Linked DNA regions of Homo sapiens: region 1 is linked to region 2. Evidence: promoter capture Hi-C in 16 types of primary human blood cells and fetal thymus (Javierre and others, 2016). All regions are on one chromosome and are shown on one strand. The core of a region is centred on a gene start or on the middle of the fragment in contact, and the rest is flanking DNA. Distances in the headings are between cores, read along the strand shown.

The links. The method cuts DNA at HindIII sites, captures the fragments that hold promoters and counts their contacts. A CHiCAGO score of 5 or more calls a contact.
Region 1: a contact is called between the fragment with the promoter of LOXL2-AS1 here and the fragment with the promoter of TNFRSF10D in region 2, in 2 of 17 cell types (M0 macrophages and M1 macrophages). The highest score is 5.5, in M0 macrophages.

The regions. Positions count from the first base shown.
Region 1 is chr8:23,334,551-23,341,434 of GRCh38, forward strand. It overlaps LOXL2-AS1 (LOXL2 antisense RNA 1), which reads left to right and starts at 1,658. Exons shown (of 3, transcript NR_038323.1): 1 at 1,658-2,907; 2 at 6,476-6,599. LOXL2 (lysyl oxidase like 2) reads right to left here. Exons shown (of 14, transcript NM_002318.3): 4 at 6,442-6,653. RefSeq lists enhancers at 1,453-1,702, 3,767-4,267. The HindIII fragment of the contact is 1,425 bases long and covers 1,514-2,938 here.
Region 2 is chr8:23,158,573-23,166,048 of GRCh38, forward strand. It overlaps TNFRSF10D (TNF receptor superfamily member 10d), which reads right to left and starts at 5,455. Exons shown (of 9, transcript NM_003840.5): 1 at 5,214-5,455. The coding sequence starts at 5,363. RefSeq lists an enhancer at 5,193-5,312. The HindIII fragment of the contact is 1,686 bases long and covers 4,269-5,954 here.

The sequences.
Region 1 (6,884 bases), core at 408-2,907, 170 kb after region 2:
ATCAGTGAGGTTGAGCTTGTCTCTGTACCATATCCTAAGGAAGCCCTTAGCCTGTATTGTTAACATGTGCAAAGTGTTCCTTTGTATGTTTTTTTTTAAAGGCAGAATATAGATGCAGGTAATTCAGTTTTTTTTTTTCTAAAACAGTAACCAACTGATAAGTAATAGATTGGCTACCAAAAAGGATACTGTACCTCAGTTTCTCATGTCCAAAATCAGAAGTAGTATCTGCTTCACTAGATTATTGTGACAGTTTATTTATTTGTTGTTGTTTTTTTTTTTTTGAGATGGAGTCTCACTCTGTTGCCCAGGCTGGAGTGCTTTGGCGCGATCTTAACTCACTGCAACCTCCACCTCCCAGGTTCAAGGAATTCTCCTGCTTCAGCCTCCCGTGTAGCTGGGATTACAGGTACCTGCCACCACATCCGGCTAATTTTGTATTTTTAGTAGAGACAGTGTTTCACCGTGTTGCCAGGCTGCTCTCGAACTCCTGACCTCAGGTAATCTGCCTCCCTCGGCCTCCCAAAGCGTTGGGATTACAGGGATGAGCTATCACGCCAGACCATAAATCTGTATTTGGAGGTAGTATCCAAATTTATGCCAAGTCATATCATTGTAAGGAGGCCGTGGCAGGAGACCCCCTCACCCCATCTGGGTTCCCATGACTCTGGCCCTTTAAGAAGAGGCTAGAACTCTGGAGAAGTTGAGGTCTCCTGGGACCAGGGTGGTCTCGAAGTCCTGACCTCTGGTGATCTGGCCACCTCTGCCTCCCAAAGTGCTGGGATTATAGGCATGCGTCAGTGCCTGGCCTGTTGTGACAGTTTAAATGAGTTAATACTTGTCACTTAAAACAGTGCCCAGAGATAGGAAGAGCTACATAAGAGTTTGTGAAATAAATAAGTAAATAAATAAAACTGTATTTGTTAAAGAAAAAAAAAGAAGAGTGACAGGAGGGAGGGATTCCATGGTTGGAGTGATGGGAGACTTTACGGAAGAGAAGCCTTTAAATTGGGCCCTGAATGATGGTGGGATCTGAAACAAAGGAGGTCCAGGAAGGCCCTGCTACCTGCTCATGTCGACCCAGCTTTTCAGGGCCCGTGTGCTTGTCCCTGCACGGCAGGACCCAGTAAGATGCCAGAAGGAGCCAGCAGAGGGTACTCGCTGGGCAGGCTGACCCCAAGACAGGGCAGAGGCGAGGTCCCATCCCTGCTGGTCCAGCAGCCCTGGAAGTACCTCCTTTGTCTCAGAGTGAATGGGGTGTGAAGACAGAGGAAGGGCAAATCCTACAGACACAGTTATCATCTCTCCTTAACCCAAATCTGAGACTTGTTACAATTCTAGTGTGCTTGTGAACACAATGACACGGAATCTTGCTGAGGACTATCCTGGCAAATTCAGGGTGCGTGCTCACCACAGCGGCAGCCCAGGGCAGAGAACTGCTCAGGAGGGCTATTAATAATTCCAGGAACCACTGCCCTCCAGACACACTTCCTGCAAGGCCCCTGCACTTGGAAGCTTACAGCATGTTCCATGACGCCCACACAGGGGCGGGAGAAGATACTCGGGGGAACACCAGCTGCTCGAGGATTGGTCAGACCTCACCGCCTGCCTTGGCTCAGGAAAACCCCTCTGCTTCCAGCCGTCAGTGAGCGCCACCCTCTCCAGGAACAGATGTCCTGCGTTCTAAATGAAGAGTGCAGAGCCCACAGCAAACAACTGTCCCCAGCAGCCCGGATCCCTCTGACATCAGCCCCCAGGAATGTGCTGCAGACCCTCTAGCACGTTCAGGCCTCCCAGGGGATACCCTCCCCTCCCCTCCTCCATCCCAGTGTTTCACTGGGGACAGGCCTCTGAGCTGCAGACGGAGGCCCACGGAGGGTGGAAGACAGCCCACCCCGCTCCAGACCTGGAGACTGGAGGAGTGACTGGAGTGAGTGAGGCAGCCTTGAGTGGAGTGGAGCGGGAAGCCTGCCTGTGAAAGAGGCAGCTAGGCCAATAGCTGGACTGTAGGAAGAACACGGAGCTGGACTGATTCAACCAAGAGTCCTACCGACCGGTGCTCCCCTTGCCAAGAGTGAAGGCAGATGCCGTGGGATTCTGCCAGCTGCTGAGTACATCTATTTCCATGATGCTTTCCGGAAGTGGGGAAATAGCACAGAATGGGTTTCAGATGGACGTAAGCTAAAAACCCATAAGCCCCCACTTTGATGTTCTGGGTCTCCTAGAATTACTGTCAGCTCAGAACCAGTGGCCAGTAGTCCAAAAGATCTGATTATTTCCTTTTCTCCAATGCACGCTCATCCTGGTGAAAGGTGTCTTTGGAGAACTGGGAGAAAGAATACAGTATAGATTTCTGGCAGGCTACGAGGGTGCTTCCTTGAGGGTACCCAGCCTTTCCCTCATTCAAGAGCTTCCAGTCTGATAAAACTGGCTCAAGTACGGGAATGGATTGAGGGGTCATGACTCTACTCTGCTTTTATGATTTGGGATAGACTTTTGTTTGCTTGACCTAGAAGTTTTCTGCTTATACAGATTAAGTACGAACTTAGTAGGCTTCCTGTCTATTTCACTTCGAGGAACATCATGATCAACCAGCCAACACCACAGGTCTGCAGCAGTCAGACTGATTTCTGCTTTGACTCCACTGTCCAATAGGGTCAGCACGTCCACCTTGCCTTTGGTAGTACTACAGCCACGGGGCCCCCGCCACCCTGGAGCCAATTACTCCGGTCGCATTCAGGTTACTGGTTCAGTGGCTGCTGTTCCTGCTGTGAGGTCTGGCCTTCAGAGAAGAGTGATCACAGCTCCTCAAGGAGGCTGGAGCTCCTTTCATATATTTACTTCTCACCATCAAGGTGAAAGGCATGTCTTCAGGAGCTTCCCAGCGTGGGTGAGGAGGTCTTAAAGGTAAGATCCACTCTAACATCCAACCTCCCTAAGCTTTTGAATTCTGTCCTCTACACACAACAGAGGCAGGGTCAGCATTTCTACTCACTCACTGTGGGCCACACTTTGGTCCACATTTCAGCCAACCAACCAGGCAAACCGCTGGAGGCCTTTCTAACTTCCTCAGCTGCAACATTAAATGCAGAATCTCTGCTTAGAGAGCTCATTTCAATTAAATGATGTCAGTATTGGGATCCTACTTTTGGGAGAACAAAATTATGACTACAAAATGCTCCCTCTTGGCACCAGGAATGGGGGCCTGAAGTTTAAGCTTCATTAGCTTTAAGGTACATGCATTGCACCCCAGCCCGGTGTGGAAGTCAGTGCCACGGCCACACCAATCAGAGAGCAGGCCTTGGTGAGGAGCCCCTGACTCTACTTTTGGCAAGCCTGTGGCTGCAGAGACCTCTGGGGTATGTGCAGGTAACTGGAGGGTATTAGTCCATTCTCATGCTGCTAATAAAGACATACCCGAGCCTGGGTAATTTATAAAGGAAAGAGGTTCAATAAGCTCAACAGTTTCACGTGACTGGGGAAGCCTCACCATCATGGCAGAAGGTGAAGGAGGAACAAAGGCACGTCTTACATGACAGCAGGCAAGAGAGCGTGTGCAGGGGAACTGGCCTTTATAAAACCATCAGGTCTCATGAGACTTATTCACTATCATGAGAACAGCATGGGAAAAACCCACACCCATGATTCAGTTACCTCCCACTGGGTCCCTCCCACGACATGTGGGGTTATGGGAGCCACAATTCAAGATGAGATTTGGGTGGGGACACAGCCAAACCGTATCACTAGGGGAAGCAGAGGTGCTGAGGAAGAGCTGCAGTTGGTGGCCAGGGGGCAGCTCTCAGGCTTCCGAGTGGCCACCAGCCCAGCAGGTTCACAGAGGGAGCCAGTCCAGTAAGGCAGCAGCGGGGTGGGGGGGCCCAAGGTGGGGGGCCCTCGGGGGTTAAGCAGGTGAGCTTCCGAGGCTATAAGGTCCTTCACGGGCCTTGGTGGATACATGGAGATTACTAACTCCACCCCAGACTGGGAATTACTTTGAAAATAATTTCCTGCAGAGTGGGCAGTGCTGCATGGCGGGAGGGAAGGGGGTCCCTTCTTGGGCCTCAGAGGTGTGCTGCCAGCAACAGCAGCCACAGGCTGTAGGAAGAGGGAAAGGGACATGGGAAAGATGCAACTGCAAGCCACTGCTTCAAGGGCCGGGCAGGGTGGTGGTCCTCAGTCTGCCTTCCAGACCTCTGCAGTCCTCAGCTTCTGAGCAGCGCCCATGGATATCCCTAGTCCCAGGCCAGTCCTGCCACAACCCTCAGACTGGCCAGAGCTTCTGAGCTGGCCCTACCCCCGGGAGAAGAGGAGCTGCAGCAGGGCCAGCAGGTGGAGACTGCTGGGTGGTGCTCTCCCTGAAGCAGACCTGGGCTGTCCTGCAGGCTCTGCTGGGTGTGGGCTGTGACACCCTGAGTCCACTGCCCTTCAGGCCTCTTCCATGTTCTCTTCCAGGCAGACCCAGGGCTTAGGCCAGTGGTCTCTGAGCCTTATCATTCCCTAGGAGTCCTAGCCCTTTGCTGGCAGCTCAGCCCCGACAGCCCACCGAGGCACAGAAAGCCTTCCCAGCACCTTTCTCTTTGGGACACATGTAGGCCTAACTGTCAACTGAGTCCCAGAGACGAACACAAAATGACAGGGCCAAGCTGAGAAGGTCGTGCTTCCCTTCCCACTCCTCTGCTAGGAAGGCAGCCCCACCTCTCCAGCTAGAAGGCTGCAGGAGGGGCTGGTTTCCAGCAGCTTCTGTTCTTCATCACCCATCCTGCAGACAGCACCACCCACCACCCCCTCCTTGGATCGCTCTCAGCCTTGGAAGCCTTATCCTCCCCGTCCTTGAAAAGGCAAAGCCACAGACGAGAGGGTGGGAGGGGCAGGATGGGGGTTCCAATCCAGCACGTGACAGGATTACCCAGGGCCCAGCTGCCGAAACTGGCCTGAGATCAACTCCTCAAAAGCCGAGAAGGACTCTGGACTGGCCACGGTTGGGAGATGGCTTCCAAACGCCATCTGAACAAGGCGCGTGCTGTCCAGCTTAGAACAGCAGCCAGGCTGGGGGCACTGGTAGGGCCAGCCAGGTAGGAAGCCTGCCAGGGAGGGGGTTTGCTTTTCTTGGCTCCGACTGGTAAGAAAAGCTGAGAAGGTATCACCAAGGAAGGAGTCGGGTGGGAGTTCTCCAAAGTATTCAGAGGACGGCGACTCCTGGTGCCAACAGGAAGGTCTGGGCCATGTCTGGGGACTGGAATCACCATCATGGCCAGCCTGGGGTGTTGTGTGCTCACCCAAATGGGCAGCTCTGCAGCTGCACTGACCCACCCATGTGAGGGGCTGGGGGCTGGGACAAAATTATGGCCCACCCCGTCCAGGCAGGGCTGGGCCAGGATCAGGGAGGGATATGTGGTCTGCCCGGCACCCCAGGGAGCTGGTGGGTACAGCTGGGGCTTCAAGCCAGGTCTCCTGACATGGAAGCCACATCTTTTCTTCCTCTGATTTGGAAGGAAAGAGACAGTGCTGTGAGTCTGCACCCTCTAAGAGTGTGGACCCTATAGCTGGACACAGGGGACCTCCAGAGGCCAGGGTGTGCGTGAGGCCTGGATCTGCCCCTTCCTGGTTCTATCACCTTTCTCCAGTTTACTCAACTCTAAAACAGACTCCTATTTCCCAGTGGTGGTGCGAGGATTAAATGACTGAGAATAGTGCCTGGCACATTATAAGTCTTTGGTAAAGCCAAGCCAGTATTCCTATCATTATTAAGAGGAGGGAGGAACACCCCATGACCAACCAAGTATACCCCAAGTATACGCCAGCCATCAGCTTGTTGGGGTGCTGGAATCCTTCCACTGGACACCCCTTAAGTCAAAATGACTCCAGGTTCTGTCCCTGTCTACTTCTTTCCCCTACTGGGAAATATTAACCTTAGCGATCATCACAGTATTGTCAGATTTAACTGGGATTGGATGAAGTGAACTGCACGGACCAGTGTCTCAATTACCTGCTGCAACTTCCAGATTTCTCAGAAGAATCATTTGCCAAGAGCAAGTAAATATTTCTTCTTAAGTTGGTGTTGTCTGTGCCCAGCCTGGCCAGGGTATTGCCCTAGCCTAGCTCGTGCAGTCCCTGAGCTGGCCGGCAGCACCCTGAGCTGGGGTTCTCTGGGCTGGGGGCAGCTTGCATCTCACTTCTGCAATACGCCTTCCCACAAGCTACTCTAGGGATTAGGGTCTATCTCCTGTAGATGTGTGAGTTCCTTAAGGGTAAGGATGCCACGGGGCACCCTTGAACTTGGCGCCTGGCCCGGCCCAGGGGCTCTGTGCAGGCTGCCTGCAGGGACACCAGCTTGCCTGGCCATGCCTGGCCAAGGAAAGGCCACCACCAGGGCGGACACTTTTAACTCTTTTAGGCAGGGCGGATACCCTCAAAGCCACCCCTTTGGTGCAGTCCTCTTACTTGTACACTTTGGTATTGTATGTCCTCTCCCCAGGGAAGCCAAACATGCCGCAGACCACGCGGGAATTCTTGGCCGTCCAGTGCTTGTCACAGATCTGCTTCCAGGTCTTGCCCTCCTTCACCTCCACGTAGCCCTCCATCACTGGGGTGCGCTTGCGGTAGGTTGAGAGGATGGCTCGAATCCGAATGTCCTCCACCTGGATATTCAGGTTCTGGGAAGAAAGAGGCGTGGAAGGAGAGGGTTACCCTACTGGCCTGGCTGCAGAGACACCAGGCAACCAGTACTTCTTTAGCGACTATGGGCCAGGCCTGCCGCGGGCCTGCCTGTGCCCTCAGGCCCTGCAGTGAGCTCTGGGCAACCCCGAGGGGCACACGGCCCAAGCTGCAGTTAGAAAGCGCTATGCATGGGAGATAGTGAGGCTGAAAGGACCCAACAGGGAGTG
Region 2 (7,476 bases), core at 4,205-6,704:
AGTCAAAATAGACCTATACGTTTACCATTTAAACTACGGTTGTCTAGTCTAATTTTTTTACTCCTTTTTCCCCTGCACATTTTAATGTTAATTACCTTTTAGAATTCCACTTTAACTGGGTACTGACTTTTTATGCATACCTATTTCCATGATCTATGTGCAAGTGCTATAGGGAATACAGTATACACTCAAGTGCTTATATTCTATTGAAGGTTTTTTTAAAATAGATTTATTGTGGTATAATGGATATGAAACAAAGTGTACATTTTTGAAGCATGTAGTTTGGTAGGTTGAGATGTACGTATACACTGTGGAACTATCGCCGCGATAAGATAATGACATGTCTACCGTCCTGCAGTGTTTCTTCATTTTTCAATGTAATCCTCTCTTCTGCTTTGCTCCTATGTCCCCAGCAATGCTTCTTCTGCTTTTTATCACAATAGATTAGTTGTATTTTAATAAGATGAGGAATCACATGGTATGCATTCTGCTTGTATTCCTTCACACGACATGATTTTCTGTGTGTGTGTGTGTGTCTGTGTCTGTGGTTTTTGGTTTTATTTTGGTTTTTGGTTTTGAGACAGCATTTTGCTATGTTTCCCAGGCCGGTCTTGAACTCCTGGGCTCTAAGGATGCACCCACCTGGGCAGGACTATACATGTGAGCCATCGCACCTGCCCACCCACCCTGGCCCATTGACTATTATCAGTTAAAGGCTACTGAAAAACAGCAGGCGCAATAAGATGCTTTGACCTCTTTTGTGTTTCCTAAAAGCAGGAGATGAAAGTCCCCAGGGAAACATAGGACGATCTCCTTATTTTTAAGGATGAGAAGTCGAGGCCAAGAGATTACTGTGCAGACCTTGTTAGAACAGAACCACTCAGCTTTTTAGCCTCCATATATTTACTAGCTTCTTCACAAGTTACTTGGTCCAATTCAATATATAAGTAACTGACTCTCACTGCTTCTCTGTGCTAGGTAAAACTTGCATTAAATAAATGTGTGTGTTGGCTGGGCATGGTGGCACACACCTGTAATCCCAGCATTTTGGAAGGCTGAGATGGGCGGATCACCTGAGCTCGACTTCGAGACCAGCCTGGACAACATGACAAAACCCCGTCTCTACTAAAAATACAAAAATTAGCCAGGCGCAAGGGTGGGCACCTGTAATCCCAAGGTACTCAGGAGGCTGAAGCAGGAGAATCGCTTGAATCTGGGAGGCGGAGGTTGCAGTGAGCCGAGATTGCACCACTGCACTCCAGCCTGGGTGACAGAACAATACTCCATCTCAAGAAAAAAGAAGTCGTACGTGCTTTTCTCCTGTGTACCTGTCTTATGTCAATTTAATTCTCAGGTCCAGCCAAAAAAAAAAAGCCCTTCAAGGGGAGCTTCGCTTCCCTCTATGACTCTCAATGGTGACTCTAACCAAACACCATCCTCCACGCCAACAATACCACATCCTATAGCCTTGCACCAACACGGCCTCTCTGGAGGAGGGGGAGGCAATGGTGGTGAGATATCAGGCCTCCCTCATGCTACCTCCTATTAGTTATATGATTCCTGGTGTCACCTCACCCACCACACTGTGGGCTCCAGGAAGCAGGATTCACATGGGGTTCATCTGTCCTCCCTGGCTCCAGCAGACTCCAAAGACAATAAAGAGCTCATTGTCTATTTCCTGGGTGACTCACTTTCCCCCCAAGCCCATGAGGTGAGCGCAGTGGCGGCCTCAGCTTACCACCTAAGGACAGGCTCCAGGCTGTGGCACAGGGAGGGGACTCCGAAGAGCCCTGTGGACTCTGCTGAGGACCCATAGGAGCTCCCAGAGGCCAAGTGCAGGACAGAGATCAGAGAAGCAGCTCCTCAGAGAACTCTAGCCCTTCAGAGGCCCAAATATGGCTGCTATTATTCAGAAGGTGAGGACAAAAATGCTGGAGACATTGCTCCTGAATCTCATTTTGCCACCTGTAAAACAGGGAAAACAACCTGCCCTCATGTCCCCTGGTTGTTAGGAAAATCCACTACACGAAGATGTACACTCTCTGGCTGGGAGCAGGATACCAGCTGCCCAACAGCACAGGCTCGGGGCATGGCACTGTCCCCACTGTCTCCATCCCCAACCTGGAAGCTAGAGCCTCGCTACCCTGCCACTCCTGGATACAGGACAGAGAACCAGAACTGGGACCGTGGCCTCTCAGTAGGGGCTGGGTGAGCAGCCATCTGCAGCCACCTGGATGGAGACCTTTCCTGCTCATCTTCAAACTCCAACCCGGGCCGGACACCCACCAGAAGCACAACTGGAAACTTGGCAGGTAAACCAGGCTGTGGCCCTGCAGTGCCATCGCTGTCCTCACTTGAACTCTGGCTCCTCTGTTCCTCGATGGCCCCTCCACATGGTGCTCCACCCCAGTCTTCAGAAGCTTCTGCCCCAAGGCCAGGGAGCCTGGTATGGAGGTGCAAGTAGGAACAGGTGCAGCCTCTGCTGGGTGGAGGACATGTGCCCTGGGGATCCAGTCCGGAGTGACTGACACCAGCCCTGAGGATGTGGTTCATCCTCCCACACCTGCTAACACAGCCCTCTGAGGTTTACACAGGGCTGCTGAAGATTTTTATCTCCTCTTCACTTTACAGGCAGGAGCTGGGGCCACACCAGTGTCACAGAGCTGGAGGGGAAGCACAGCAGGGCCCAGCTGTTCCCAGCCTCCAATCTCAGGAGTCCTTGAGAGCCTCAGAGTCCGAGATTCTGGGCCGTTGGATCTTTTCGATTCCTACTTTGATAAAGAGAAGGGCGGGGCGGAAGCCTCTGTCACACAGATTGGAACAGTCCAACGCTGACAGAGCCAGGACCTGGGGTCAGGAACTGAGCTCAGCTCCAGGCTCATCTGATGTCCTCCTGACAGCCTGAAGATGGAGACCTTATCTCCATTTACAGGCGTGGCAGGTGGCAGGGACTGGCCCCAGCTGACCACGGTTCTCCAAGTTCACAGCTGGGAATTCAGTCTTCCCTGCCACCCTCCCCTGCTGTCTCATCTGGATCCCCCGGTCATCTACTCCCACTACCAAAACTCCCGTATCCTTGAAAATTCCTAATACCATTAAGGAATGAAAGTACATAACAATGTGATGAATCACCTTTTACTTCCTAGACTAGCAACGAATGAAAGCTAAGTGTAACAAGGGTGTAGGGATACAGGCACATGTGTGAACTAGGTGTGAGTGTAAGCTGAGTTCAATGGTCTTTTGGAAGAAAATTCGTAAACATCTAAAGAAACTTCTGAAATGATTTATCCCACGGAAGTAGAAGTAAAATTCTACTTCTAAGGAGTTGCCCAATAAGCTGGTGCGCATGGACATGTGGACACACGATACATACAAGGGTATTTAGTACAATGCTGTTGGAATTAGCAAAGGCAAATTTGCTTTGGGTTATATCCCATCGGGATGGGATATAACCAGCTGCCTCTAGATGGCAACAGTGAATTAACCTGTGGCTTACCCATGTAGTAAAATACAATACCCTTGTTTAAAAGAAAATCAATCTGAATGTACTGCCATAAAACATCTAATGTGATTTGTGCTAGCTCCAAAATTTTAAAAAGCAACTGTGCATTGAAATGCATTTAATAAGGCAAGATTGATGGAGGGATCAAAGCCTCCTTTGGGACGCATAGAGTTCACATTCCCAAAACTGTGAAATTCAGGTTGCTGGTCTTGTCTACACAGGTCATCCACACATTCTCTCTTCAGGGCCACTGTCCTGACACAGCCATTCTTCTAGCTGCCTCAGGTAGGTCCACCCACTATAAACTATTGTAGAAGTCAGTTGTGTAATTTTTGAGAGGTGAAAATGTCACTGCTGTTCTGAATTTAGTATTACTTCGTTGAAAGAAAACATGGAGACTCTCATGGTTCATGTAATCTTGTTTTATCCTCCCCGTTTTGTTTTTTGGTATTACGTAAGAAACCTTAGAAAGCACTGTTGGCAGAAACGTCAGTCACTCAGAAAAAGTCCTGGCAGTCTGCACATCTTATTTTTATGTCCTTCTTGTGCACCCCACTACCAATCTCAGTTTCCAAACCCAACTCACAACGAGAACTTTACATCTTTTATGCCTAAGGAAGGGGCCATCCCGCGGTCCTGCCTATGGGATACAGAGGGGACACACGGGTGGCAGTGGAAGACACTGACTGCAAGCACCTTGGTTAACCGCTTCCTGCCACTTTCAGGGTTCTATAGGAAATGAAAGTTACAAAAAACAGCGTTGGAAAGCTTTTTCACAGGCTGTTTGTTAAACTGATCTCCAAGAAACACGTGTAACAGTGTAAACATAGGGTTAATTTTGTTTGTTTGTTTGTCTGTTTTTGTTAAGGCAGAGTCTCGCTCTGTCGCCCAGGCTGGAGTGCAGTGGTGCAATCTCGGCTCACTGCAACCTCTGCCTCCCGGGTTCAAGCAGTTCTCCTGCCTCAGCCTCCTGAGTAGCTGGGACTACAGGCGCAGGCTGCCACGCCTGGCTAACTTTTTTTTTTTTTTTTTTTTTTTTTTTGAGACGGAGTCTCGCTCTTGTTGACCAGGCTGGAGTGCGATGGCGCGATCTCGGCTCACTGCAACCTCCGCCTCCCGGATTCAAGTGATTCTCCTTCTGCCTCAGCCTCCCGAGTAGCTGGGATTACAGGCGACCGCCATCACGTCCGGCTAATTTTTGTATTTTTAGTAGAGACGGGGTTTCACCATGGTGGCTAGGCTGGTCTCCAACTCCTGACCTCAGGTGATCCGCCCGCCTCGGCCTCCCAACGTGCTGGGATTACAGGCGTGAGCCACCGCGACCGGCCTGGGTTAACGTTATGAACGAACGAACGAACGAACGAACGAAAGAGGCAACCGCTCTGTGGCTTCCTGAGGTTCACTCCGGGGTTTCCATCTTGACTCCCTCCCTCCGCTGATTCTGGAACTTCCTCTGGGGCAGCTCAGTGCGGTCCTCGCCGCACGGGACAGCCAGGGGGAGCGCGCGCTCTGCTCCCTCGCGGCCCGGTCGCTCCTGCCCAGCCCGGGCACCCCACTCTTCCCCTGACTCCGACGGCGGGTTCGTCCTGCCCAGACATGCCCGGCCGCAGGCGACCCGGGCCAAGCATCCCCACCGTGTCCCCCTCTCTCCCTGCCCACTCCCGGCGCCAGGTGCGCTCTTCCCCAGCCAGGGACCGCGGCGGAGACTCACCGGCAGCAGAACCGCGACGATGAAGACGACGAACTTAAGGATCTTGGGGTCCAGGAGCCATGGTCTGGTTCCCGACGCTGTCCTGGCTCCTGGATAGCGCCCTGCTCGAGCGCTCGAGGCGGTCGGGACGCTTTGTCCCCAAAGTCCCATGAGAAGGGAGGAGGGTGGATCGAAAGCGCCAAAAATCAATCAGAAATCGTCCCCGTAGTTTGTGCGCGTGCAAAGGTTCTCGCAGCTACACTGCCAGAATAGAACGTGCTCCTCCGCTTTTATACCCCGGAAAAAAGGCGTGGTCAGTTGTACTCCCTTCCCGCAGTCACTTCCAGGCACTCAGGCTGGGTCTCCCCCAGCACCTCCAGGAGGGCCCAGGTTGTGTGGGTGGGTGCATGGACGGACAGGAACTGGCTCTTTCCGGCAGCGGTGACCCAGGGCCTGCGGTTTGATTCCGGGTCCTGTCCAGGCTGTAGGCAGCAGAAGGGGAAGGAGCTGAGGCGCTGCCCGCTGCGCTGCTGTAGTCTGGGTAGTGAGCTCCAGAGGAGGCACTGGAGGCCCATCCTGAGCCTGCTCCCTCCCCGGGCCGCCTGTCTCTCCTCTTCTTAAACCCTGAACTACTTCCTGGCCTCAGGACTTCAGTCCACTCTTAGCTTCTGCTCCCACTCCCTCCTCCCACAGCGGCCTCACTGACCAGTGCACTGATGCCACTGATGTCTCCAGCCTCCTTGCTGCTGTGACCCAGCTCCAAGCTTCTCTGGCAGGGGCTTGGTATCCCTCAGTAGCGGGTGCCTGGCACCAAGGAGGGGCCCAGTGAACACATGAGTGGACAGAATGAAGGACACAGAGGCCATGACAGGCACCTGCAGAGGCTGAGGAGTAGGTAGGAGGGAGAGGAACGCCGGGGGCATCCCTAGCCACAACCTGGCACCCTTTGCATGGTCAAAGCACAAACACTCCCTGACCAACCTTGAGGGCTCTAGTATTGAGGCCCCATGGAGACAGGGGAATCAGGGGAGTGCCTTCCAAAGTCTGTCCCCAAGTCTATTGTCTACCCAGGTCCAACTGTCTGACCTTGGGCTACTTACCTCCCCATCCAGTTGAACACACTGCCGCTGTGAGGGCAGACCCAATGTGTGGTTTTGAAGGGTGCCAGCTTGTGACCCTAAGCAGTAAGGTCAATGGCAGGACTCCTAGACCCTTGGGATGAGTCGGCTCCTGACCCCTCACATGGTAGATAGAAGAGGATAGCGCTATAGAAATGAAGGTTTTTTGGCTCATGAGAAACCTGGGAATGAAATGTCATCCTCTCCACAGGCTTGGATTTGAGCGATGGATCACCCTGAGCACCTTCCAGGGCCCAGACAATGACCTAGGGTCAGAAATGTGAGCCAGGGCCGGGCGCGGTTGCTCACGCTTGTAGTCCCAGCACTTTGAGAGGCTGAGGTGGGCGAATCAAGAGGTCAGGAGTTCGAGACCAGCCTGGCCAACATAGTTAAACCCCATCTCTACTAAAAATACAAAAATTAGCTGGGCGTGGTGGCGGGCACTTGTAATCCCAGCTACTCAGGAAGCTGAGGCAGGAGAATTGCTTGAACCCAGGAAATGGAGGTTGCAGTGAGCCGAGATTCGTGCCACTGCACTCCAGTCTGGGTGACAGAGCGAGACTCTGTGAAAAAAAAAAAAAAGAAAAAAAAATGTGTGCCAGGTCCCAGGCACTGAGCTAGGGTCAGAAATGTGCGCCAGGTTTCAGGCACTGAGCTAGACTCAGAAATGTGTGTCAGGCCCCAGGCACTGAGCTAGGGTCAGAAATGTGTGTCAGGCCCCAGGCACTGAGCTAGGGTCAGAAATGTGCGCCAGGTTCCAGGCACTGAGCTAGGGTCAGAAATGTGTGCCAGGTTCCAGGCACTGAGCTAGACTCAGAAATGTGTGTCAGGCCCCAGGCACTGAGCTAGGGTCAGAAATGTGTGTCAGGCCCCAGGCACTGAGCTAGGGTCGGAAATGTGTGCCAGGCCCCAGACACTGAGCTAGGGTCAGAAATGTGTGCCAGGACCCAGGCAATGAGAAATGTGTGGGGTCAGGAATGTGTGCGGGGTGCAGATCCAGGCAGGAGGTGAAAGGTCAGGGACTTCAGGAAGACTGACAGCATTAACACAGAGCCACCAGGGCCTGCAGGAAAGTCCTTAGAGCACCTTAGCTCCCTTGGCCCTGGAGGGTGGACCACACAGTATAGACCAGAAACCAGACTGCAGGTAACAACGCATTCTCTGTG